2 separate regions of the Homo sapiens genome follow, and region 1 is linked to region 2. The links are contacts of gene promoters, found by promoter capture Hi-C in blood cells and fetal thymus (Javierre and others, 2016). All regions are on one chromosome and are shown on one strand. Each heading gives the region's core, a stretch centred on a gene start or on the middle of the fragment in contact. The rest is flanking DNA. Distances are from core to core; before and after follow the strand shown.

The links. Contacts are between HindIII fragments. The CHiCAGO score rates a contact against its expected background, and 5 or more counts as called.
Region 1: a fragment that was not itself captured here is called in contact with the fragment with the promoter of EN2 in region 2 in 1 of 17 cell types (total B cells); the score reaches 6.5 in total B cells.

The regions. Positions count from the first base shown.
Region 1 is chr7:154,939,874-154,945,787 of GRCh38, reverse strand. It overlaps PAXIP1 (PAX interacting protein 1), which reads left to right. Exons shown (of 21, transcript NM_007349.4): 21 at 1,624-2,098. The coding sequence ends at 1,639. PAXIP1-AS2 (PAXIP1 antisense RNA 2) reads right to left here. Exons shown (of 8, transcript NR_024476.1): 3 at 1,168-1,761. Among named protein-coding and RNA genes, the nearest start is that of PAXIP1-AS2, 14 kb to the right of the region's middle. The HindIII fragment of the contact is 212 bases long and covers 2,560-2,771 here.
Region 2 is chr7:155,456,455-155,462,781 of GRCh38, reverse strand. It overlaps EN2 (engrailed homeobox 2), which reads right to left and starts at 4,653. Exons shown (of 2, transcript NM_001427.4): 1 at 3,720-4,653; 2 at 1-411. The coding sequence starts at 4,404. The coding sequence ends at 95. EN2-DT (EN2 divergent transcript) reads left to right here and starts at 5,664. Exons shown (of 3, transcript NR_186580.1): 1 at 5,664-5,792. RefSeq lists an enhancer at 5,000-5,991. The HindIII fragment of the contact is 14,368 bases long and covers 1-6,327 here.

The sequences.
Region 1 (5,914 bases), core at 1,416-3,915, 520 kb after region 2:
AATTATTATTTTAATGTAGGAACAGCCTATCAGTGAAGCAAAACATGCCTTACAGGTCCTTATGGGAAAATTCTGTTTCCACTTCCGTTTCCCATTGCAGAGCACCTTCTCTCAGGGCTGTTCTCAGGACTTCTCCCTGGGCCTCCTGCAATGAGGCTGGAGCTCCTCCTCTCTGTGAGGGTGGGAGCCTCTGCCACCTCTGACCAGTGTCAACCTCAGTGGACCTTTCCTTAAGCAGGGGAATTTTGTGTTTGGGATAGGACTGCTTCAGTAAGGCGCAGAGGTCAGAATGATACCCATCCTTGCCGAGTTTTTTTTTCTTCGTGTGTGCCTGTTTCATCCAGGTAATTACATTTAAGTATATTTACATTTAAATACACTGACATTCATCCAGTTAATTACATTTATCAAACATTTTCCTCTTAACGCTAAAGAGCTTATGGTTATAATAGTAGACAGAAGACCTTGATATCACTGAGAGAAAAGCACTTTTAAGAAGTAAAATTTGGCCGGACGTGGTGGCTCATGCCTATAATCCCAGCACGGGAGGCCAAGACAGGTGGATCACCTGAGATCAGGAGTTCGAGACCAGCCTGGCCAACATGGTGAAACCCTGGCTCTACTAAAAATAGAAAAAATTAGCTGGCCATGGTGGCGGGTACCTGTAATCACAGCTACTTGGTGAGGCAGGAGAATCACTTGAACCTGGGAGGCAGGGGTTGCAGTGAGCCAATATCGCGCCATTGCACTACAGCCTGGGCAACAAGAGCGAAACTCTGTCTTTAAAAAAAAAAAAAAAAAAAAAGAAGTAAAATTTGCCTCAGTCCCAGAATCCAATGTCATGTTTAGCCATAAATAAATAGCCTGTCTAGTTGGAATGAGGCTTGGTGCAGAAACGCTCTTACCATTCATACCAGAGCTTGCTGTATTCCATACCGCCATCTATTAGAAAATTATTGTAGGAGCTACTGATAGGAATGATAAGAGGCCTGTTAAATTTTTACAGATATGCTATAAGCATTTGGTTTTTATACAACATGTACTCTTGCATTTTTTCCAGACTTTTTCCTAACATTCATGTTTGTATTTGTGAAAGCCTGTTCTACACTACATTTACTTTCAGAAGAAATTGCTTTAAAAGTCATACAGGAGACTTATGAGTATTACCTTGGGGGCCTTTTTTCATATCCATAGCTTGATGAATTTTGCCCAAAGTGGACGGTTTAGAATTGCAGAGGTCACTACCTGCTCCTGCAGGTATAAGTAGGAGTCAGCTATTTGTGGTGGGGCTTTGGGGATGTCAGCTCTTGGGGGTTGTGTGTTGTACATGTTAATTTAAAGGACATTTCAGCTATTGCTGGGCCTCAGTTCTGGCCGCATGGTGGATACCTTGCGGAGCTGGCACAGGTGCTGATGTCCCCGGGCTGAGTGAGCCTGTGTGTCGGGGCTGAGGGCCTCCTGTGATGTGGGTATGCAGCAGAGCGACTGGTTTGAATGGGTAAGAAAGAGGCTGTAGCATTCCTTCAAGGGTGTCTCTGAAACTGGATGATGAATGTTGGAACCCTTGGTTTCATGTTTTTCTTTTGCCTTGTGTTTGAAAGTCGTTTTCCTCAACAAGCCTACATATAAGTTTAACTGATGGCGTCTAGGCTGCCGTGCATGTCGACTCCTGCGGTGCGGGGCTGGCTGTCTGGCTGGCGAGGAGCTGCTGCGCTTCCTTCACATGCTCTTGTTTTCCAGCTGCTTTCCTGGGGGATCAGACTGTGAAGCAGGAAGACAGATATAATAAATATACTGCATCTTTTTAAGATGTGCAATTTTATTCTGAGGAAACATAAATTATGTTTTGTATTATATGACTTTAAGAGCCCACATTAGGTTTTATGATTCATTTGCCAGGTTTTTAAATGTTTTCACAAAACTGTTACGGGACTTCAACTAGAAATAAAATGGTGTAAATAAAGACCTTGCTATCTCTAAATTATGGATGTTAAAGATTTGAAATGTTTTGTACTTTGATTATTTTTATTTCTTATACTCTGTTTTCTTTTATATTGATATCTTGCCCACATTTTAAATAAATGTACTTTTGAACTTAGAATTGAGTAATCCTTTATTATTCCACATTTTTTGCATAACTTATAATTTGCATCAAACCGGATCACATTTTAAGTAATTTCAAGACAAAATATTTTCCAGTCAATTTTTACCTCAAGAAATAATTTCTAGAAGCCAGCCATTTTTTTTGTCACCGTAATAAACTCCATCCCAGGCAGGGGTGGATTCAGATTATTTTGCAATCACTAAGCACAGGCGCAACCAGTGAGAACCAGTGACGCTACGGAACTTGCATCCATCCTGCTTCTTTCCAGACCCTGTTGCAGTACACGTCTTGTTGGATCATAGGTGTGATAAAATGGTAGGAGACCGCCTGTTTATTAAAGATGAGCAGGGCAGTAACTGCTAATATCTTTAGATCGTGCTGACCAGTGCTGTCGCAGACATTCAGAGCTGTTTTTTAACCAACATTGTGCCTCAAAATATGTCTATTTTTAAGCTTATATTTTTGTGCTTAAATAAACTTAGATACTGACTTATCTTTGAGTAGATGTAGAACTGACCTTTTCCCCTTGTGTACCACAGGTAGAATTGGTGTTGCTATAAAATATTTTAGATTCTGTAGAATCCTGGCAGTGTGGAAGCATTTCATAAATCAGAATAGAGTTTTCATTTGCAAAGTATTCAAAGTACTTCCCTACTACTTAGAAGCTTGAAGGCAAGTGACAATCATTACAGAATAAATGGGCCTTCTGGGTAGAGTATAATGCGTCTGTTTAATCTTTGGTGGAGACAGGGTGTTTATATAACCAACATACAAATATGACTGATTTGATTAACCTTTCAATTAGTGCTTTTTTTTCTAAAGCTGCCAAGAAATGATCCTTAAAAACTCCAGGAGCTGTCTAAAGCCAACTGGCTTGCACAGCTGTTAAGCATTGATTTGGTGACTAAGAGGGACTTAGATGAACATATAAAAATAAAAAGATTTCAAGTAAATACTTCTTAGAAAAAAATGATTAGATCGGACAAATTATTTCTTACATGAAAATCTCATTTAATCCTATTTTCATCTGGCTCGGTGTCATCTAATAGAAATATAATGGGAACAATGTGTAATTTAAACATTTTTAGTAGCTACAATAAATGTTTTAAAATTAGTTTTAATATGTAGACAATACATCCAAATATTGCTTCTGCCAGAAGTAATCAATATTTTTAGAAATTACTGAGATATTTTTACTGTTTGAGGGATGCCAAGTCTTTAAAATCCAGTGTATATTTTACACTTAGACAACATCTCAATTCTGAAATTTTCATTGGAAGTACTTGATCTGTTTAGATTTCACACCACTTAGAGTTGAAAAAGGATATTATGTATGTTTATATACTCAAATTATTCAAAAGATAGTTAAGTGTCTTCCAATAACTGAATTAATGCCAGTTTTGAAGTTAACATAAAGTGCAATTAAAAAATGGAGGTCCTTCCCTTGCACTAGGTACTTTTCCAGCGTGCAGTGACCAGGGGTGGCTGATCATTGAGAAGATGAACAGCTGTCCATCACCGAGCTGCCACCTCAGTATACCCTGAATTCTGTAACACTGGCAAGTAAGAATGGCAAGCAATGTGAATGCCAATGATGAAGACATAGATAATCCATCCAAATCATCCCAAGATTGTTTCTTTGTGTAGGATAATTAAAAGTATCTACCTGATAGCTCACAAAAAGTGTGTTTTTAATCTATCTGCTAGGTATTGAGAGGAAACTTGGAAGAAATACTGCGTATCCTAGCTCTAGGAGTTTAGTCTCATTAGGAAAAGTTAAACAACATATGTCAATCTAGCAAATATTTGGTAATTTAAGGAAATATTTGAATAGTAATAGCTGCACAACTTTATTTTTAAGAAATATTTTAGCATAGAAAGTTAAATGAAGATAATTGTATCCTCAGCTCTTTAAACCTCAGTGCTGCTCCCCATGAAGCTCTCCCAAATTACTTTGTTGAATTAAAAAATAAGTGTGTAATTACGTACTAACTTTGTAGAAAGTTTAGCTACCTCCTGAAATGAACCACATGTGTCCCCGAAGAGTTTCTCTCGCCCACCGCCCAGCCGCTCCATCTCTGAACTTCAGTGTTGCTGGGCTTGCTCCTCAGCCGATTCCACCCTCTAGGGGTGCAGCTAAACACAGGTCACCTCTCCTTATTTCCAAGGTTTGTTCCTCCAACTGCAGAGCTGTTCATATCTACCTCTCCCCACGCTCACTGTGTTCATTTCTTTTCCTCTTGTAAATGTTAGCAAGGTTTTACATTTGTCTCCTTTTCTCCAGTCGCTTTCCTTTCAGGTTGACCTCTGTACTGTTCCAGGAGTAATTTTCCTGAAATAAGATTCTGTTTCTCATATTAATGCTAAAAAGAAAGAGTCCAAGATGAGATGTTTCACATCTTTTTCTTTTTTTTTTTTTTTTTGAGATCGAGTCTCACTCTAGTGCTAGCTGGAGTGCAGTGGCATGATCTTGGCTCACTGCAACTTCCACCTCCCGGGCCCAAGCGATTCTCGTGCCTCAGCCTTCCAAACAGCTGGGACTACAGGTGCGTGCCACCACGGCCAGCATCTTAATCTCTTGTAATGTCACCATCCCACCCCCTTACTCCCATTAGTCACATGGAATCAGTTGTGATTACCCAAGCTTGCCAAACACTTCACAGGCCTCTCTCACTTTATATGCTATCTCTTCCTATTAGAAGAACTCCCATTCCTATCTGGCAAGCTTTCCCCTCATTTAGACTGTAAGGCCTTCCTGATCTTTATAAACATTCTTTCTAGTTTCCTCCTCTTTGTGTCCTCAGCCCTCTCTGATACAATGGAATAGATGTCTTAGAGGTGAGTGGTTACTTGTTCGCACTCTGTTTCTCTCTGCGTTAATGAAGCCTCAGAGACAGATTGAGGCCTTCTTCACCTATGTTATCTGTGGTAGGTGGAATTATAGCCCCCCAAAGATACCCTAGACCAGCAGCCCCTTACCTTTTTGGCACCAGGGAGTGGTTTCATGGAAGATAATTTTCCCATAGATTGGGTAGGGGTTTAGGGTATGTTTCAGGATGAAACTGTTCAACCTCAGATCTTCAGGCATTAGATTCTCATAAGAAGTACGCAACCCAGATGCTTGGCATGTGCAGTTCACAATAGAGTTCGTGCTCCCATGAGAATCTAATGCTGCCAGTCATCTGATACGAGGCAGAGCTCAGGCGGTAATGCTCACTCGCCCACCTCTCAGCTGCTGTGCAGCCCAGTTCCTAATAGGCCGTGGACTCGTACTGGTACGTGACCTGGGGGCTGGGGAATCCCTGTCCTAGACCTAATCCCCAGAACCTGTGGCTTCTATGTTAGCTTAGTGGCAAAAGATACTTTGCAGGTGTGATTAAGGTTGAGGACCTTGAGATGGGGCGATGAGCCTGCATTATCCAGGAAGGCCCAAGCGAGCCATGTGAACCCCTCACAGTGGAAGAGGAAGGCAGAATTATCCAGGAAGGCCCGAGTGAATCACGTGAACCCCTCACAGTGGAAGAGGAAGACAGGAAAGTGGTTTGGAAAATGGGACCTTAGTCCTACAGATGCAAGGAACTAAGAGTGATTTTACTCCAATGAGACTCCACCAGACTTCTGACCTATAGAACTGTAAAACAATAGTTTTTAGTTGTTCTCATTTAAGCCACTAAATTTGTGGCAATTTGTTACAGCAGCAATAGAAAACTGACAGTATCCCAAATTTTTGTAGATTGCTTGGCATTTTATAGGCATTTGCTCAAAATGTGTTGAACTAAAATTATCAGAGGGAAAATAAGGAATAGTTTT
Region 2 (6,327 bases), core at 3,404-5,903:
AATGCTGGTATAATCTTTATACACTGGCCCTTTATGATTTTAAATTATTGCATTGTTTAGCGCGGACTGAGACCTGGCCTCCATGCCCCCCGCCCTACTCGCTGTCCGACTTGCCCTCCTTGGCTGTGGTGGAGTGGTTGTACAAGCCCTGTGCCATGAGGTGCACGGCCAGCGTGTTCTTGTTGCCCGTGGCCTTCTTGATCTTGGCGCGCTTGTTCTGGAACCAAATCTTGATCTGTGACTCGTTGAGGCTCAGCTCCTGCGCCAGGCTCTGGCGCCGCTGCTCCGTCAGGTACCTGTTGGTCTGGAACTCGGCCTTGAGCCTCTGCAGCTGCTCGGCGGTAAAGGCCGTGCGCGGCCGCTTGTCCTCTTTGTTCGGGTTCTTCTTCTTTGGTTTTCGAGACCTGGGACCTGGGTAGATACGGTGGACAGAGAGAAGTCAGGTTACCCAGAGGTGTGCCACCCAATAGGCACCGGGTAAGGATTCTGGGGCCCCAAGAGGGAAGTGACTCGCCCAAGGCCACTCGAGGCTGAACCGCCAGATGTGGGGCTAGACTTCGGACTGGGCATGGGCTCAACGCGGACCTCCACCACTTGGTGAGGGAGGACTGCGTGTGATGTAAGTGGGACTATGGGGCAGGCCTAGTGGGCAGGCTGACCACAAATGAGGGGTCTCTAGATAAAAGTAAAACTCCTGGATGTAAGCAAAACTCCCCACACTTTCTGGCCTGGTTTTTCCTAGTCCTTTCTGAGGCTCTCTGTTCAGGAACAGGGATGGCGGTAGGTGCTGAGAGAGAGGGGAGGAGAGAAGACTGGGAAAGGCTGCAGGGCGGTCACAGAAGCAGGAGGCGCCCTGAGGGCTATGATGGGGACCCTCATGGGGATACCCCACAGGGTGCCAAGGGCTGTGGGAATCAGGGGCAGGTGGGCCCTGAGGACAGGAGGGGCCCAGAGTGTCTGCCTCCACCCAAGCTCCTCTATGACTCCCAGCCAAGGGCTCTGTGGACCCAAGTTCATTCCTTTAAGGAAGAGTCAGTGCATGTACTTCCCTCCTTGGTGGGGAGGGGCACTGAGCTACTCACAGTGGGTGAGTCCTTCACCCACTGGAAATCTCCCAGGTTTCCTGTCCAGGAGAGGGGACCTGGCTCTACAAGGGTGTTGACTGCACCACCCTTTCCCCAGACATGGGACTGCTTCACTGTGGGCAGCAGGGTAGCCCAGCTGACCTTGTCCAGGTCCACTTCTGACCCTCCCCACTGTGCCTCCCAACTGGGATTCAGACTTATGAACCTGACCTGGCCTTCTCCCTGTGGACCTGCCCCAGGTTTTGGACAGGGTCGCTGTAAGGCTTCTAGGACCTGCTATCCATGGGGAAAGGGCAGAGGGAGGAGAGCAGAAGGAGGGAAGTGTCATCAGTTTCTTTTTGGTGATAAGAGGCTCAACCCCCTGGCGTTCCCTGTGGGGGAAGAAGGGGGCAAGGCCACTGGCAGGGAGTGGTGACCTCGCCTCTGGGTTTCAATTTGTGCGGTGTATGAATCGGCTTTAGGGAGCATCTGGCCCCAGCTTCATCACAGGTCCCTGTGGCTGGAGAAGGCTGGGGGCCCCCCACCCTTCAGGGCCGGAGAGCTGCCGGGCACACTGAGGAGAAGAGGAATGTGGATCTCCTTGGAGGCCCTGGGACTGCACCCTGCCCAGGTCAGGAGAGTCAACTAGGGTGCTGGGGCTGTGCCCAGCAAGAGGTGGGGGACGAACTGGAGGCCCAGGGTGAATGCCAAGCACTCCCTCATGGCCAAGTGAGTCTTGTGCTCTCTCCAGGAGACAGGCCTGGAGAAAGAGGATCTGTGGGCACCACCTCAGGAGCACCAAGGGCAGCTTTTAAAGCAACCCATAGGCAGGCTCACCACCCATGAGAGCACACACCCTATACTTGGGCACCCACCCCATGCACACGTACACACTCAGTGCCTGTCTTGCTCACGCCCAGGGCTCCAGGCCAGTGGGCCTGGCTTTGGTAGGGGTAGGTGCAGATTTGGAGATGGGGTTGGCCCTCCGGAACGGTGGTGGGGGATGGGGCACAAGGCTCCAGGAGAGGCCCCAGCCTCCTGCTCCCAGAGCCCATCTCTGTCTGGGTTTCCAACCACTCCCTTCCCCAGAACTCTACCCCCAAACTCTTCTGGTCCTGGGGCTCTTGTTAATGCACTCATGAAGCAGCCCGCAAAAGGACACCATTTTATGGCAATAAATTTCCCTAAAATAATAATTTTTAGGTTTTTTTCTTGATTTTCTTTCAAAAGACAAATACTTAGGAGTCTCAGAAACAGAATCAAACCTCCCCAAGAAAACTCTCTCTCCCCTTTCTTTCGGAGAAACCAAAGAACAGAAACATTATCTTGCAGGGATATTTTAAAGCCCATGAAGATAGGCGACTTGGGCTGGGCTGAGCTGGGCCGGGCCAGGCCGGGCCGGGCGGTGCTGCCCAGCTCCCGGGCCGTTGGGGGCTGGCTCAGCGAACTCCCGCGCCGCACAAAGCCCGGCCGAGTCTCCTCGCCCGGCATTGTGAGCCTGTATGTTAATTAAATATTAACAAAGGAGGAAGACGAGAACAATGGAGCAAATTTCAGATCTAGCTGAGAAATCTGAATTTCATCAGAAATATGCACGCATAGTTCTGCGGGATGGCGGCCCAAGGGTTGGCTCACTCCTGCTGTGATCTGGGCAAATGACCCCCGCAAAATAGTTGAGGGTTTGGGGGCAGCGGGGATCCGCTGCCAGCTCGGGGTCAAACAGTCCACTTCTAATGGCGGTTCCCAGCCGCAGACCCGCATGGAATGCAGTTGATGATTTCTACAAGGACATGGACTTAGTTTTTTAAAATCGCAGATCTATGAAAAAATATATCCAGCATCTCTGCAGGGCCCCTGCGAATGCTGCCTCTTTCCCATCAGCAGCCCCCAGGAAACCCTGAGAGAAGGTCCTTTCTATTTGGGGATGGCAGGTGCCGGGAGGGACGGCTGCCTCCCTTGTCCTCGCTGTGTGCAGGAAGGGGGCTGAGCCCCACCACTGCGGGCTGGCGCTGGCAAACAAAGTGGAGCCAAGGGGAAAGGGCGCCTTTATTTTCCTCCTTCCCTGTGTGCATCCTCCTGAGTCCCACCGGTCAGCGCAGGCCCGAGGGGCAGAAGGCAGAGCGGCAAAGGGCCTCGCCTTTTCTTCCCCGAGCACAGCCGGGATAACCGGATGGTAGGACAAGTCTGGGGTGGGCTGGGGCATGCGTCCCCGGCCTGGCCTGAGTTGGAAGATCGTAGGGAAGGGGATGAGAGTGTGCACTTCCGGGCCCATCTTCCAGCCACCACGTTCCCACCAAAAAAAACTACAGTGGGGGAGACATGGGCTAGGGGCTGGGAAGAGATGCGCCAAGGCGGGGTGGAAGACAGAGAGGGGAGACAGGGAGAGAGGAAGGAGAGAGAGAGACAGAGAAAGAAAGAAGGTCCCTTCTGCGGTCCTAAGAAGTCTGTACCCCCTAGCGAATCAGTCCTGCCGCTGGACTCCTGGCCGCTGCCCGGGCCGGCGTCAGCTTCACACAATGTCGCGTGAGTCTTTGTGCGTGTGCGCGGGGGAGGTTCGAGATGTTTTCCTCCCGGTAAGTTCCCGCGCCAGCACCGCCCCCCAGCTCCGCGGGCCTCCCCGCGGCGAGCCGGGACGCGTGGTCCCCGCGGGCTCACCTGAAGAAGGCCGGTCCGAGTAGCGCGTACAGTAGACCCACGCCGGCCAGAGCATGGGCTGCGCGCCCAGGTTGGCGCCGGCTTGCGAGCTGTCCGAGTCCGAGCTCACCGACAGGTCGCCGCCGCCCAAGCCGCGGGCCTTGAGCGACCCGTCCAGGGGGCCGCCGGGGTCGCCGCCTTTCTTGGCGCCACCGTGCAGCGAGAGCGTCTTGGAGCCGCCTTCCCCGTCACCCGGAGAGTCGCTGCCGGCGGCTGGGAGCGGCCCGCCCGCGCCGGGCGCACATGGCGGGTTCTGCCGGGGCTCTCGGGAGCCCGAGCCCAAGAGCTGCTCCGAGCCGCCCGCGCCGCCGCCTCCCTCCGCACCGCTCGCGCCGCCTTCGCCGCCGGCTCCGCCGCCCCTTCCTCCTCCCGCGCCCGCACAGCAGGTCCCCGCGTCCTTTCGCCGGCCGAACTCGGGCCGCAGGATGTTGTCGATGAAGAAGTTGGTGATGCGGTGCGGGTGCTGGTGGTTGCCGGGCGCCTGCAGGACCGCGGGCAGCATCAGAGCCCGCCGGCGCCCGGTGTCCGCTTCGCCCGGGCTGCTACCGCCGCCGCCGCCCGAGCCGCCGCCGGGGCTGGATTCCGGCTGCCGCTGTCCCTCCACCGCCGCCGCTGCTTCGCCAGGCTTGGGGTCATTCTCCTCCATGCTGTTCACAGTAAATCCCACACTGGTTCTCCGGGGACGCCCTTCCAAATCAGCCTTCGGCCCTCCCGCGGCGCACACGGAGACCCCCGCGCCCCCACCCCGCCGAGTCTTCCGAGGGCGTGCGCGGCGGCCGCGGCCAGGGCTGAGGTCCTACAAGTCGCCGGCCGCGCTCGGCGCGGAGCCACCTTTGAATCCACGAACTGGGTTAGAAACACCACGAGCCGCCCCGCTCGCCCAGACGATGAGAGATTCAACAGAGCCAAGTCCTCGACTTCGCCGCGCAGCCGGGGTCTAGACAGTCGCAGTGGTCCGGCGGGGACGCGGGCCGCCTCCCGGGCTCCCCGCTCCTCTCCGCGTCCGGCCGCCTCGGGCTCCGGCGCCGCCGCCTGGGCCGCCCGGGGCGAGAGCTGCGCGCATGCAGGCAGCGCGTTCCCCGGCGCTCACGCCCGCCCGGGCCGGCTCCGGCCGCCGCCGCCGCCCGGCCGTCCCCGCCCGCACGCCCTAGCCGGCCCTCGAGGGTGCCGGGCGCCCGCGGTCAGCGCGCCCGCCACCGCCCGCACGCACATGGAGGCCCCCTCCTCGCGGCCGCCGCCCCGCTGCGGGCCGGGGCGCCCCACCGGCGTGCGGCCGCGCCCCCGCCGAGCCCCGCAGAGCTCCGCGGCCCGAGTCGCATGGGTGAGAGACGCGAGGCCAGGGCCCGGCCGGGCCGGGCTGGGCCGCCCGCGCTCCCCGGCCGTCCGCCGCCCTCGCCGCCTCGGCCTCCGCGCGGGCTCGGAAATTTCCAGGCCACTCGGCGCAACCTGAGACACTTTCACTCTGGATTTTTGTTCTTATTTTTAACAGAGCCCCCTCGAGTGACGTCGCAGGCCGGTCTCCTGGACACGTGCCTCGGGCCAATGGCCGCGGCGCCGCGCGCCCACGTGACGCTCCGGCCGCCGCTGGGTGACAGGAGCAGCCCGCCGCCCCTCCTCCCCTTAAAGCGGCCGCGTCCCCCGCTCCGGGTGCGGGAGCCCAGGAACCCGGAGAGACCCCCGACCGCGTCTCCTGCGCTCGCCCGCGCTTTCCCTGTCGCTTCGCGGTTCAGGGGTGTGAGTCACCCGGCGACAGCCCCGCCAGGTCACCCCGGGGCGCGTAGGTGGACACGCACAGGAAGATCGCTATTTTTAAGATTTCCATATTGTTTACCGTGGGGCGAAATCCCACAATTCCTTGCACAAAATGCATAAATAATATTAAATGAGCTGCCGAGATACAAAGGGACTTTTGTGGTCCGCTTTCCTTGCTGATGGAGAGGAATAGTGTCACTCCCATTTGACTCGGTAACCCGGCAGCTTCCTGTCTTAAACGCAGAGCTGGCGCGCAGGACACTCCTCCTGCAGACACTTATTGTAAGTGTGCGTGTGTGTGCGTGTGCAGGGAGGCGCGTGCATACGGCCGCATTCCACCCGGGGACAGCGACCCTCATGAAACATGCTTAGCGATCCGAAAGAGCGGGGGAATGCAGTATGCGGCTCCATTTGCGAAGGGAGAAATCCAGGAGCCTCGGAGGTTCTAAAGGAATCCTTTTTGCCAAGGAGAGGAGGGGTGACTGTTCAGCTAAGACTTCAAAACCAAGTCGCCCGCCCCCCTCTAACTTCTCTACTCTGATTGAGGAGCTCCCAGACCGGTCATCTCGTTTTCTTTGTTTTAAAATCCTTTAAACTAATTTTGCCGGAGAGCAGGGCCCATTTGAAACGAGAATTAGGAATCCAACGGCAAGGGTGGGAGCCCCAGTTGGTTTCTCCCCTCCTCTCTCTTCATCTTTTCTAGACTTTCCTTCCAGCTGTTGTCAGAATGTCCAACTGGAAGTTCTGTTTCCTCTTCTCTTCCCCCTCCTCCCTCGGGCTCCTTCCCATTTGCTCTTGTCTACCCACCAAACACCCG